Regions from separate parts of the Homo sapiens genome. Here regions 2, 3, 4 and 5 are each linked to region 1. Evidence: promoter capture Hi-C in 16 types of primary human blood cells and fetal thymus (Javierre and others, 2016). All regions are on one chromosome and are shown on one strand. The core of a region is centred on a gene start or on the middle of the fragment in contact, and the rest is flanking DNA. Distances in the headings are between cores, read along the strand shown.

Region 1 (2,700 bases), core at 113-2,612:
CCTCCAATATAACATGGAGGAGAGGAAAAAAACTGTTCCTGGACAAAGATACACATTTCTTCCAAAAGGGGGAGTCTTTCTATATATTTTGTAATATCTCCAGAGCACAGCATAATGTTGGTACTGCCATTTTGGCCTTTGTCATTAGGAAGGTAACCCACATAAGCCTAACTACAAACACCCTTACCTGTACTAAAACTTCACTCATATTTAACTGAAGCAACATTGTTTTTTGTAAATATAACTGTAACAATTATTCTAAAAGGCAATACAGCTGTCCTCACCAGTTATGTTCTTGAGACATCAGTTGCAACAAACTTATATGTAAAAAGTATTCAAAAAGTTTAAACATTGATCTTAACTGGAGAGGGGTCTGCACTTGAACAAGTTTTCTTGCTACACACATTGCATTCTAAGATTTCGGACTCACTTTTGAATATGCAAAGACATTTCATGGTTAAGACCACAAAAAGGCTGATCAGAGAACATTTTTATTTAAATTGCCATTTTAAATATCAGTCGTTTTATCTTAAAGCTTGTCCTGGGTTTAACAAAGTTTAACTCACATCCACGCGTTGTCTCTCCAAACACAGCAGGCAGAAATTCTCCTTTGATTGGATTAAGATAGATAAAGTCTGCTTAACCGTGAATCGCTAATTGTCAAATCCATGCCAATTCGGTACCTAGGAGTCAATTTTTTTGCCTGATAAACAAGATAATTGTGTGGACCGTTTTAAGGTGGTTAGTCATCTGCTAAATTGGCTGAAATGCGGATTACCCAGTTCCTTCGTCGTACAGAGTTGCATTCTGAGGAGTGGGGCTCGGGGATACAGCCCCCAGAAATTCTGAACCTCGGTCCCGCAATCTACCACACCACCTAACCTTGGAAGGCCAAACTAACTTCACTATTTTTGACAAAATGCTTTGGTAATGGCTCATTCGGGCCGAGAGGGAAATTCTGCAATTCTCCAACCCACACCTCCAGCAAGGGGAGAGCTGCTTGAGTGGTGAGCACAAGCTGGGCACCTCCGGCGTCTCCAGGAAACGTGAATAGGCCCTTTCTTCGGAGGGCACAGAACTTCAGGATCAGGGCCCAATGGAGACTGAGCGGACTTAACCCTAACTGTGCACAGGACCGCGCTCTCCGACCCCTTTGTGGCCTCTCCCAGAGGTACGGGCTGCGCCCCAAGCCAGCAGTCTCTCGTAGGGCCTACAGCCGGCAGCCGCTGGAGCAGGAGGAGGAGAATAGGGACTCGCTGGACCATCACAAACGCTGTCGCGCGTGCGCAGGGAGGAACCGAGTTCGCGGCGAAGTCAGTTTCCTGACTCTTGAAGGAAGTGGCCTTGTGTCACTTCCGGCCTCCCTTTAGCTGCCATCTTGCGTCCCCGCGTGTGTGCGCCTAATCTCAGGTGGTCCACCCGAGACCCCTTGAGCACCAACCCTAGTCCCCCGCGCGGCCCCTTATTCGCTCCGACAAGGTACAAAAAGGCTCTGGACGGCGGCGTGGTAGGAGGACGGGAGCGGGGGCGGGAAGTTCCCTGAAGGAGCGAGACAGGGAGGGACAGGGCAGAGGAGGAGAGGAAGGCGATGCGACGGACAGGCGCACCCGCTCAGGCTGACTCTCGGGGGCGAGGTCGAGCCAGGGGCGGCTGCCCTGGGGGCGAGGCGACGCTGTCTCAACCTCCACCTCGCGGCGGAACCCGAGGACAGGAGCCTCAGGTACCGCGAGGCTTGCGGAGAGTGGCCGGGCCGGGCAGGCCCTGGCTAGGCCGAGGCCAGGCCAGGGCCAGGGGTGGGGGGTGCTGGCCAGGCGTGGGGTAGAGCCTTTCATCCGGGCCTGCCAAGAGCGGGGAGCTGTGGGGGAGTGGTGGGGAGGCGGGTGCTCTTTGGGCTCCCTGGAAACCCAAATTTGGAGCTTTGCGGGGTGGATTTGGGATCCAGGTTTCGGCCTGTGTAGGACGTTTATTTTCCTGCTGGTATCTTGGGAAATAACGAGCATGGAATGCTAGAGTGAGCTAAACCTATCCTTGCTGAGGATTTCCTCTTTTTCTAGATGAAAGAAACAATCATGAACCAGGAAAAACTCGCCAAACTGCAGGCACAAGTGCGCATTGGTGGGAAAGTAAGTTTTAATAGTTCGGGTTTGTGGGTTTTTTTTTTAAGGTTTAGGTATTTTAAAAAACATATTCCTTTTGCGCTTCTTATATTATCGGTGACAAACTTTGCCTATCGAGGGAAATTCACGGAGCTAGCAAATCTCGAGGAGCGGGGGAGACGAGGGTTGGAGACACATCAGTGAGACGAGCTAAAAACATCGCCTTTGTGTAAACATGTTTGTGTTTTCAGTGTTACAGAGTGTAAGTAGAACACAAAAGTGTTTCCTAATTTAATTAGTAAGGAAAATGTGTCATTTCAGTTAGATCGTTGTGCACATCATACCCTTGACTTGTTTTGGCCTGAGTTTTCTAAAGTCAGTGCTTGTTTGTCTCTCTTGTAAATTGAGACCTTTCTGTACTGCTTTCTGAACTAAATATTCTTTAGGGTAGTTGCATATTTCAAGGGTATTTGAAGATACGGGTACATTTTGGAGTTTAAGAGCAGTGACTATTAGATTTGAAAATATAACCCAAGTAGGTATCTTTCCTGTTCTGACTTTGTATTACTGTAAAAATGAGGGAATTAAAGTGACTGATTTTTAA
Region 2 (2,700 bases), core at 167-2,666, 1.9 Mb before region 1:
ACCTTAAGTTCAAGGCATTTTGTATAGAATGTTTTAATTTTTATGGGTATATTTGGAGTCCTTTATTTAAGACCACAGTGCTGATGTCCACAATCTGTCACTACATAGTGCCTGGTGTGGTGGCTCATGTCTGTAATCCCAGCACTTTGGGAGGCTGTGGCGGGCAGATCGCTTGAGTCCAGGAGTTCAAGACCAGCATAGCCAACATGGTGAAACCCCTACAAAAATAAAAAATTAGCCGGGCTTGGTGGCACAAACCTGTAGTCTCAGCTACTGGAAAGGCTGAGGTGGGAGGTCAAGGATTCAGCGAGCTGTGATCGTGCCACTGCATTGCAGCCTGGGCGACAGAGTGAGGCCCTGTCTCAAAAAATGAAATAAAGTAAAAAATAAAAATAACTACATAGCGAAAATAATCAGAAGAATGTTTAAGGTCTCCAGTGAAAGGACAACAGGCTTGTTGTGCTGTTCGCAAGCACGTGTTAGATGCGATTCACTCATGTTGTTGGTGTGTCACTGGGGGTTGTGACTGCAAGTTGTCCAGGTTCTTGGCATTGTGAACAAAGAATTGGACAAAACGCCCAGCAAAGCAAAGAAAGAACAAGGCAACGAAAGAACGAAAGCAGGGATTTACCGAAAACGAAAGTGCACTCCACAATGTGGGAGCGGACCGAGCAGAGCTCAAGGGCCCGGATATAGAATCTTCTTGGGTCCAAATACCCACTAGAAGTTTCCTATTGGCCATTTTATGCTCACCTCAAACCCGATTGGTTGCAAGAAGCAAGCAGTCAGAGGCTAGGGTGAAATTACAAAGTTATACTTCTATGCAAACGAAGACTGGACCCCCAATCAGTCTGATTGGTTGTGGACAGCAACCATTCAGAGGCTGGAGTTAAGGTTCAAACTTGGCAAAGCAAGCCTCCACCAGCAGTAAGTCTGATTTGTCGGGGACAGCCAATTTCCTATCTGCCCTGCGGAAAAGGTGGGGGGGTTTGCAAAGGGAGTAGCCTTTGGTCCTTTTGTTACTTAGGCATGGAAAGTTAGGGTTTTCCTTTCAGTTTAGCTCTAGGAAGTCAGCGTGAGACAGCCTTAGGTTCCCTGCTTCCAGACTTATTCTCCTGCCTTAGGTACAGTCACTATCGTGATATTATCTATCGCTGTGTCAACACAACACCAATCCAAGCCCAACCGCAGCTCTCTCACTGCCGCACCGCTTCGTGAGGGTCGATCCGCCGGGGAGACCTGCTCTCCTGCGCTCGGGACTAGACGCGACCTCGCGGGGCTGAGGCTCTGTCCCTTATTGGCTGGGTCAGGGGGCGTGGCGCGGCTTGACCAATCGCGGGCGGCGCGCTTAGGCACGTGTGTGGACAGGCCTGAGAATCAGAGAAACCTTCTCTGGGGCTGCAAGGACCTGAGCTCAGCTTCCGCCCCAGCCAGGGAAGCGGCAGGGGAAAGCACCGGCTCCAGGCCAGCGTGGGCCGCTCTCTCGCTCGGTGCCCGCCGCCATGTGGGCCGTCCTGAGGTTAGCCCTGCGGCCGTGTGCCCGCGCCTCTCCCGCCGGGCCGCGCGCCTATCACGGGGACTCGGTGGCCTCGCTGGGCACCCAGCCGGACTTGGGCTCTGCCCTCTACCAGGTAGGCTGAGCGCCCCGGTGGCCTGGCCGCCGGTGCCAGGCTAGGAAGCAAGTGGAGGAGGGGCACGCTTCAACAACTGCTGCTCTCTTGTCCGGAGCCCCAGTTGATTCTGTGACGCACGTGAAGTTTGAAGAAGAAAAGCCTAACAGATACAAGAAAGTTTAGTTCACTTTTAGAGCTGGCACTGTACTTTGTGTCTTTGAAATCAGTGGTTCTTAAAGCCTGGTTTAGAATTGCCACCTGGGGAGCTAGCTGAATAGCTGCCTGAGCCCTACTCTGGACCTTGTGGGTCTCAGGTGGAGTCGCTGTGTTTATATTGTTAGTGAACTCATTAGGGGACTTTTGGCAGCCAGCTTTGGGAACCACTGGCCTAGAGCAGCCCAACGAGGGGCGCTGTGCTTAGGAAATTTGAGTTTAAAAGTTGATTATGATGGCCGAGCCCAGTGGCTCACGCCTGTAATCCCAGCGCTTTGGGAGGCCCTGGCGGGTGGATTACCTGAGATCAGGAGTTCGAGAACAGCCTGGCCAACGTGGTGAAACCCCATCTCTACTAAGAATACAAAAATTAGCCGGGCATGGTGGCGCGCGCCTGTAATCCCAGCTACCTGGGAGGCTGAGGCAGGGGAATCGCTTGAACTTGGGAGGCGGAGGTTGCAGTGAGCTGAGATCGTGCCATTGCACTCCAGCCTTGGCAACAAGAGCGAACTCTGTCTCAAAAAAAAAAAAAAAAAAAAGTTGGTTATGTTAATAGAAAATATCCCACAGTATCTTTGAGTGGCTTTTCTTGGAATTAGGAGGCATCATAAGGCCAAAAAACTCAAAACTTGCGAAATATCAGAGCTGGAAAATTTCACTGTGTTCCCACGATTTCTAAGCCTATACAGATAACATCTAAATAGTGCAAACAACACACAATTGTTTGTCAGTCCAGAATGTTTAATTCAGAATTATTAAGTGGTTATTGTGGTCTAGGCACTATTTTAGATATTTGGCATGGATGCGTAGGAATGGAACTAATAATTTTGTAGGGAAGATGGACAAGAAAGCAGGTAACTGTGGTACAGTGTAA
Region 3 (2,700 bases), core at 109-2,608, 1.4 Mb after region 1:
CTCGCGGCTGCCAGGGCGAGTGCGGCTGCCTCCCGCTCGCCCCGGACGCCCGGCTCCTCGTCGCGGGTCGGCCGCGGCCCACCGTGCCCTCCGACGACGTGACGCACTAGCGCCGCAGCGCCTCCAGCCTTCGCTTCCGCTCCGCGCCCGCGCCCACCGCGAATCCCCCCGCCCGCCAGCGCGGAGCGGCCCCTCCTCGGAGCCTGGGACGCCGCCCTGCCTCCCTCCAGCCCCGGCTTTCAGGCGCCGGCCCGGCAGGTGCGGGCTTGGCCAGCCCGGGGGCGTCACGCGGCCCCCGCCTCGCCACCCGCGCCCCCTCTCTCCGCCCCGGCCGCCGTCACCCGGCAGCGCGACGCCCAGCTCAGGGCAATGGCCTGGTATTAAAGAGTGACCTTGGCTTAGATATAAAAATAGATGCGGTTAAGCCGCGGGGGCTGCAACGCTGATTTTGCGTATTCCTTTAATGCCGACCTTCGCAGGATTCTGTTCGCATAGCCCGGTGGAGTTCTCCAGCCCCGCGTAGGCCCTCCTGAAATTTACCCAGAGTGGGCGCGGCCATCCCGGCCTCGGGACAGGGGTGCAGAGGGCACGGGCGAGGACCGCCGGCCTCCGCCCCACCACTTTCATCCTAAACCTACTGCCACTTAGGTGCATGCAAGTTAGAATCGTGGGCTGCTTTCACAGTCTACAGAAGTCCTAGAGCCCGGACTTTCATCTGGAGATGTCAGGGAAATACCACATTCCTGCGCTGACCTTTTCTCTTTCACCGTTTAACCGGTACAGAATAACCCTGACCCAGAAAGACAACAGGGTTCCATCCGGCTTTCCTCCCGTGCCTCTCCCAGCTCTATTCTACCGTCTTATGGCCTCTGGCGCCTTTGCTAATTACACACTCCTACTGAAAATTAGCCCTCCAGCATTTAAAACATGATAAATTGTCTTTAAGGTAATGCGTATTGTAGTCTAAATATATTTAATAACTGTATTGAGAAACAATATTGTATCTAAGTATTAATGTCAAGACTTTCTTTTACTCATCATCCAAGAACCGTAGTATTATGTTCAGCTCATCCAGAAAAGTTGAAAATTGCTTCTTTCATTCCTGGGAAATATTTAGCAATCACAATACCAACTTTCACGAATTTACTAATGATTAGCAAAATTAGCAAGATCAAAAAATACTTCAAAGAATGCTTGTTGATATAGATATATTTGACCCTGATTTTTAAAAAAAGCTTTTCTGCCATATAAGAATCTATTGTTTCATTTGTATAATATTTAATTAGCCAAAATCTTTACTATTACACATCATTTACCATTTTAATGAAACTTAATGAATTAGATTTAATAGAGCAGGAATTTTGGGTAGTTGGGTTCTACCCATAGCCAGTGATGAATGAAATTATATGACTTGTATTTACATTTCTAGAGCTATGTGTAAGTAGGAGTCCCCAGGGTAATCCCAAACAATTGCCATTTGGGGAAGCTTTGGCTACCAGACTATGCCCTACAGATGTTGAAGCCTCAGGCCTTAGTGTAAAGCTAACCAATACAACTTGTTGATAATATTTGAAATGCCTGGGTGTGATTGACTCTTAGCTATTGTTTTAGAAGTATGCGGGTATTTGTGCCTGGGTCAGGGAGGCCTGGCTCCCAGATGTCTGGCTATTCTGGTAGGAGACAGAACTACATTCACCCAGACCTATAAAAGAAAAGGTCCAATTTTTTTTTTTTTTTTTTTTTTTTTTTTTGAGACAGGGTTTCACTCCCACAGCCTAGGCAGGCTGGAATGCAATGGCGCGATCTCGACTCACTGCAACCTCTGCCTCCCAAGCTCAAGCGATTCTCCGGCGTCAGCCTCCGGAAGAGCTGGGACAGAGGTGCACACCAACGCACCTCGCTAATTTTTGTAGAGACGGAGTTTCGCCATGCTGCCCAGGCTGGTCCTGAACTTCTGAGCTCAAGCGATCCGCCCGCCTCGGCCTCCCAAAGTGCTGGGATTACAGGCGTGAGCCACTGCGCCAGGCCTGATTCTCTTTTCCCTACTTGCAAATGACACTATTTTTGAGAGTTTTTGGTTTTTTCTTTTTAAATCACCATTGACTTCCCTCTTTGGCTGAGATAAATTTTGCTTATCTTAGTGGGCAAAGAACAACAACTAAAAACATGAGCCTTTGTCAGATTAGTATATGCTGAAAATTGTTACCACAATATTTTGAAATATGCTTTGAGGCTTTTTTCTGAACCGTTTTTAGAGTAAAAGGATTATTGCTTTGGTTTTTGTTTTTGCAATGCTTGCTTTAATTATTACTTTGTTATTAGCAAAGGAAACATGTTAAGAGTTCGTTCTGATTGTATTTTTCCTCTATGTTTAAAGAGGAGTGGAACCATCTTAAGTAAAAGAAGCTTGCCACAACCCTGGATTTTGGAGGTTACTAATACACATGACCCAGAAAAGAGCTCTTTAGTTGCACTGGGGAAGAGGAATTCTTAATAGCTAAAATCATAACTGATGTTTTTGACAGCTAACAAATTGCCAGGCACTCTACAGACTTCTTTATGGAAATTAATTCACTTAATCCTCTTACCATCCTTGCAGGTATACACTGTTACCCCCAGTTTACCTAAGAGGAGTCTTGAGGCACACAGAGAAACTAAGCAATTTGCCCATGGTCACACAGATAGTAATCCTAGCATGTT
Region 4 (2,700 bases), core at 178-2,677, 1.2 Mb before region 1:
TATCTTTAAAAAATTCCTCCTACTATAAAAATAAAACAAAATATCAATTTTCCCCCAAATATATGACTGAGCTTTCAAGAAGGTAGATGTAACTGTCAGAGGCCAAAGGCAAGATGGAAACATGAACTTGGAGTGTTTAGAGGAGCAGTCCCTTTGAGGGGAGCAGTCCTTTTGAGAGCATGTGATGATCTACAGTGATGGAGAGCTTTAGTTTCAGTGACTTATGGGGACAGAGGATAAAACCAATACTTGTAAGATGAGAAGCTTGTTCAGAGATCCTCAGGTAAAGCCAGGACCACCTAAGGGAACTACACCTGAAGTGAAAAGGTAAAACTTATCACTACAATAATGCACCCTAAAAAGTAAACAACCGGGACACTTGTCCCCTGAAGATTATAAACTACAAGTCAGCCCTCATGCCTCTTTGGGGATTTAATCCACTCTTCTTTTGTGATCCAAAATATACCAAGCTGAGAATTTTGTTTGAAGAGTTGACTTCACTATATAAAATTCTAAAAATTGTGAACTATTCTATAGAAACAAAAAAGCATATCCATGGTTGCCTGGGAATTTGGGGTATAGGGCCAGAAGCGGAAGGAGAAAAGGGTTAAAGAATAGGAGAAAACTTTGGCAGGTGACACATATGCTCATTATCTTGATCATGGAGATGACTTTATGGACATATACACCTGTACATTGGTCAAAACTGATCAAATTGTACATTTAAATATACATAGTTTATTTTATGTGAAGAATACCTCATCAAAGCTGTAAAAAGTAAACAATGAATAAGTTAAAAAGCAGGTTAGACACAGGTGAAGTGAGAGTGAACTGAAAGGCAGATAATTACACAGAATGCTGCAAAGATAAAAATGAGAACTGTAAAAGAGCAAAGATATAGAAATATGAATAAGAATGTATGATGAGACAATGATGAGAATTTTTTAGAATTGATAAAAAATATAGGTTTCTAGATTCAGGATATGTATACAATCTCAAGTCAAAAAAGTAAAATTATTATTTCAAAAACGATGAATGAGAGGATCTCAAAAGTGGCCAGAAAGAAAAGAGAAATTACAAAGAAAGAAACAACTATACTAACAGGTGTTTTCTCAATAGGAATGATAAAATCCAGAAAATAGAATAAAATGTTCAAAATGTTGCAAGTATAAACTATCAACCTAAAATTGCATATCTAGCAAGATTATCTTTAAAAAATAAGGGCAAAATATGGGTATGCTGGCATGTGCTTGTAGACCCAGCTACTCAGGAGGCTGAGGTGGGAGGATCACTTAAGCCCAGGAGTTGGAGGCCAGTGTGGGCAACACAGCAAGACCTCATCTCAAAAAAAAAAAAAAAAAAAAAAAGATAAGGGCGAAATGAAGACATTTTTGGACAAACAAAAACAGAAAATGTATTAGCAACAAATACTAAAGGAAATTTTTAGAACTCAATAAAATTGGTTAAATTGGGGGGGAACTGACTGTTTAAAATAATGTTATATGTGTTTTAAAGGATAAAACTTTATTATTAGACAAGAGCATATGGTTAGATGTGTGTGTGTGGACCTAAGGTGTCCTAAAGGATAGTAGAGTGTGATGAGCATTACAATTTAAGCTAGATATGCATTTTAGAAGTTAAAGGGCAACAATCTCTAAAAAAGTAGAGGATATAATCTCCAGACCAGTGGAGGGGAAAAAAACGTAAAAAACAAAAACAATCCAAAAGTAAAAATCAATCCAAAAATAAAAAATAAAGAAAAAAAAGAAAGATGAAACCAATCACAAAATGTGACAGAAATAAATCCAATTATATTGGTAATCATGAAATGATAATGTAAATAGACGAAATTTTCTAGTTAAAAGATAATGATTGTCAGATTGGTTAAAAATATAAAAGCTAGCTATATAAATCATATAAACACAGAAGAGTTGAAAATTATTAAAAACACACTAGGAAGCCAAAATAAAGCTGGTACAGTTGTATTAATATCAGACACAATAGATTACAGGCAAAAAGCAGTTTTATAGATTATGTGGGTCACTACATAATGACCAAAAATTCATTTTGCCAAGATAATTTTAACCTGGTGCACACCAAAGTAACACAGCTTCACAGTACATAACCACAAAATCTGTAGTACAGATGTGTTGAAAAACAAGCCTCTTAAAAAAGAGTGTGGTCTCTGGGGCAAAGTTGTGATAATGAAGGTCACTGAAGAAAAATATGAATCCTTTATTGAATCCTTCTAGCTTCAGGTGAGAAATGGTTTCAGTTTTTCTTTTCTACATAACTGCACATTACTGTTAACCTTTCAGGCAACACTAAACTCTTTCTGGGCTTATGGTCATCTGCATACCTTACCTAATTTATATAATAAAGAAACAGGTACAGATTATTATTGTCCTTCCTAGAAGAACTGATCTTGAAAAATACAGGCTGAAACTGTTTTTGTTTCCCACATTTTAAAAGAAAAACGAGGACACATGACATATATCATGCATTGAATATACAGAAGGAAGTATGGAAAACTAGCCTAGCAACCAATTTGGACATAGATTTTTAGACTTCCTTCTATTTGTCTGTCACCAGAAGCTTTAACATAAATAAATCCAATAAAGGAAAAACATGAAATCAAGCTTTGTGTACATATATATTAATGAGACTAAAGAACGGTGATGTGCACAAGTCAGACCCATC
Region 5 (2,700 bases), core at 90-2,589, 1.3 Mb after region 1:
TATACAAGTCAGGCTATTCTAGGTTTTCTGTAGTTTCACAGATTTGTCATTATAATCAGATGGCATCCTGAATGGTGTCAGTTTCTTACAAGCTTGATTAATGAGTCTGTTACTAAGAAACTGATTTAGTGATTTTTTCCCCCCATCCCCATGCACACAAAAATGAAGACTGCAAAATGTTGTGACGTTTAAAGTACTACACCCTAAAAGACCTTATTAGGTGACTGGGTGACTCCATAACCAGTTTCTGTAACAAAGACTCCTCTGGGTCTCCTCCAGTCTCATATTGCCATCAACCTAAAGAAAGCTGACAGTCCACTCCTTTTTTCATCATGGAAGGTAGCCGAGTTATATAAAGACTTGGAATCAGGATATTAAGGTTTGAGTCTGTTTACCACTCACCATTTAATCTGGAAACAAGTCATTTAACCTGCTGATCCTTGTTACATCATTTGAAAACAGAGGAGAGGGGATGTGTTTGTTGTGAGGTTATTGTGTTTAAGTGAGCCAGTTGTGAGCTAGCATAGTGGCCTGGTATATATAAAGTCCTTAGTAAGTCTAAGTGTAGATGACTAGACAGTAAAAATCTGGGTATGTTGCTAGGTAGCTATTACAGGGTGAAAAAAAAAAAAACTTTTCAGAGGCTAGCTGTGGTGGCCTGTAATCCCAGCACTTTGGGAGGCTGAGGTGGGTGGATACGTTGAGAGCCCAGGAGTCCAAGACCAGCAGGCAACATGGCGAAACCCCATCTCTACCAAAAAAAAAAAAAAAAAAAATAAGCTAGGCATGGTGGTGCGTGCCTGTAGTCCCAGCTACTCAGGAGCCTGAGGTGGGAGGATGTCTTGAGCCCAAGAAGTCCAAGCTGCAGTGAGCCAAGATCACGCCACTGCACTCTGGCGTGGGCAACTGGGCAAGACCCTGTCTCAAAAGAAAAAGAAATTCTTAAGTATTTGTGTGGGTGTTTTCCCCACATATTTATACTGTAACCATCAGCTTTTTACTCTGTAAAACATATTTTGTTAGCTTCTTTAAGATGACATTATTCAACCATAGTTTTTTGGAGATGGTTGAAAAAGATAAGCGAAAACGACCACTACTCATCACTGTTAACATTTTGGACGTAAACATTCTTATGTTGTGTTTGACTTACTAGGGCTTGCGTTTCAAGAAAGCCCATGTAACACATCCTGAACTGAAAGCCACCTTTTGCCTACCAATACTTGGTGTAAAGAAGAATCCCTCATCCCCACTGTATACAACTTTGGGTGTTATTACCAAAGGTACTGTCATTGAAGTAAATGTGAGCGAATTGGGCCTTGTGACACAAGGAGGCAAAGTTATTTGGGGTAAGTGAATTTTTGAATACAGGGCTGCTGTGTTCTGCAGTACTAATAGAAATACTATTCAAGTTGATGTATTAATAAAATATACAGCAAATTTTTTTAATGCAGTAGAGCTAAAACACTGTAAATCAGATGTAAATATTTAGTAAAAAATACTTTATAGAAAAAGTTGTTATAAATACAATTGTTTTAAAATTTAGCTTACTGGTTTTAGTTACATAAGGTGTAATACATTCTGCTAGATTTATTTTTATCCTTTTTAGCCAGGCACAGCAGCTCACGCATGTAAATCCCAGCACTTTGGGAGGCTGAGGCGGGTGGATCACCTGAAGTCAGGAGTTTGAGACCAGCCTGGCCAACATGGCAAAACCCCACCTCTACTAAAAATACAAAAAAATCAGCCGGGTGTGGTGGCGAGCACCTCTAATCCCAGCCACTTGGGAGGCTGAGGCAGGAGAATCACTTGAACTCAGGAGGCGGAGCTTGCAGTGAGCTGAGATTGTGCCACTGCACTCCAGACTGGGAGACAGAGCAAATCTCCATCTCAAAAAAAATTTTTTTAACCTTTTTAATAAAAATTATTATAAGGGAAGCAGATGCAAAGTTATAACTAAGAAATATTATAAGAAAATAGAATAAATTAACCATGAGCAGAGGAAGGGAGGCATATATCAAACATATTTTAAAAGTGAGGTCAGCTTACATGAAGTATTAGCCAATGACTAAAGATGTCTTCCGTAAGAAAAAATTTCTTTTGCCACAACTTTATATTATGTAAATACTTCTTATATTTACATGCTAACATTAAGAGAAAATACCTATTACATTTAAAGAAATAGAACTATCTGTCCCACGTAGGTAAACTGATCATTGAAACTGCCAGGAGCGGTGGCTCAGCCTGTAATCCCAGCACTTTGGGAGGCTGAGGCGGACAGATCATCTGCAGTCAGGAGTTCAAGACCAGCCTGGCCAACATGGTGAAACCCCATCTCTACTAAAAATACACAAATTAGCCAGGTGTTGTGGCCCACACCTGTAATCCCAGCTGCTCCGGTGGCTGAGGCAGGAGAATCGCTTGAACCTGGGAGGTGGAGCTTGCAGTGAGCTGAGATCGTGCCATTGCACTCCAGCCTGGATGACAGAGCGAGACTCTGTCTCAAAAAGTAATAATAATAATTGAAAGTGATTTAACACAGTTTAGTTCGTTCTGTTAATTCCCATTAACAGGTCTCAGAAATCATGTAGAAGCTTCCAGGCTTTAAAAAGCCCCCTCGCTATCTGGGCGCAGTGGCTGACACCTATAATCCCAGCACTTGGGGAGGCCGAGGCAGGCGGTTCACTTGAGACTGGAGTTGGA

What was found. Contacts are between HindIII fragments. The CHiCAGO score rates a contact against its expected background, and 5 or more counts as called.
Region 2: a contact is called between the fragment with the promoter of MCCC2 here and the fragment with the promoter of BTF3 in region 1, in 4 of 17 cell types (fetal thymus, total CD4 T cells, naive B cells and 1 more). The highest score is 11.3, in fetal thymus.
Region 3: a fragment that was not itself captured here is called in contact with the fragment with the promoter of BTF3 in region 1 in 3 of 17 cell types (total B cells, fetal thymus and naive CD4 T cells); the score reaches 5.6 in total B cells.
Region 4: a fragment that was not itself captured here is called in contact with the fragment with the promoter of BTF3 in region 1 in 3 of 17 cell types (naive CD4 T cells, total CD4 T cells and total B cells); the score reaches 6.7 in naive CD4 T cells.
Region 5: a fragment that was not itself captured here is called in contact with the fragment with the promoter of BTF3 in region 1 in 2 of 17 cell types (total B cells and fetal thymus); the score reaches 6.5 in total B cells.

What each region holds. Positions count from the first base shown.
Region 1 is chr5:73,497,080-73,499,779 of GRCh38, forward strand. It overlaps BTF3 (basic transcription factor 3), which reads left to right and starts at 1,363. Exons shown (of 6, transcript NM_001037637.2): 1 at 1,363-1,720; 2 at 2,055-2,123. The coding sequence starts at 1,589. BTF3-DT (BTF3 divergent transcript) reads right to left here and starts at 1,241. Exons shown (of 1, transcript NR_186388.1): 1 at 474-1,241. RefSeq lists enhancers at 1,198-1,257, 1,288-1,587, 1,351-2,161 and a silencer at 1,798-1,847. The HindIII fragment of the contact is 2,385 bases long and covers 534-2,700 here.
Region 2 is chr5:71,585,924-71,588,623 of GRCh38, forward strand. It overlaps MCCC2 (methylcrotonyl-CoA carboxylase subunit 2), which reads left to right and starts at 1,417. Exons shown (of 17, transcript NM_022132.5): 1 at 1,417-1,631. The coding sequence starts at 1,503. RefSeq lists an enhancer at 1,076-1,862. The HindIII fragment of the contact is 6,273 bases long and covers 1-2,700 here.
Region 3 is chr5:74,866,280-74,868,979 of GRCh38, forward strand. It overlaps FAM169A-AS1 (FAM169A antisense RNA 1), which reads left to right. Exons shown (of 1, transcript NR_134288.1): 1 at 1-996. FAM169A (family with sequence similarity 169 member A) reads right to left here and starts at 108. Exons shown (of 13, transcript NM_001376049.1): 1 at 1-108. RefSeq lists a silencer at 1-44. The HindIII fragment of the contact is 251 bases long and covers 1,234-1,484 here.
Region 4 is chr5:72,302,539-72,305,238 of GRCh38, forward strand. All of the region lies in intron 2 of MRPS27 (mitochondrial ribosomal protein S27), which reads right to left. Among named protein-coding and RNA genes, the nearest start is that of MRPS27, 16 kb to the right of the region's middle. The HindIII fragment of the contact is 2,331 bases long and covers 263-2,593 here.
Region 5 is chr5:74,772,715-74,775,414 of GRCh38, forward strand. It overlaps NSA2 (NSA2 ribosome biogenesis factor), which reads left to right. Exons shown (of 6, transcript NM_014886.6): 5 at 1,154-1,346. Among named protein-coding and RNA genes, the nearest start is that of NSA2, 6.8 kb to the left of the region's middle. The HindIII fragment of the contact is 2,499 bases long and covers 91-2,589 here.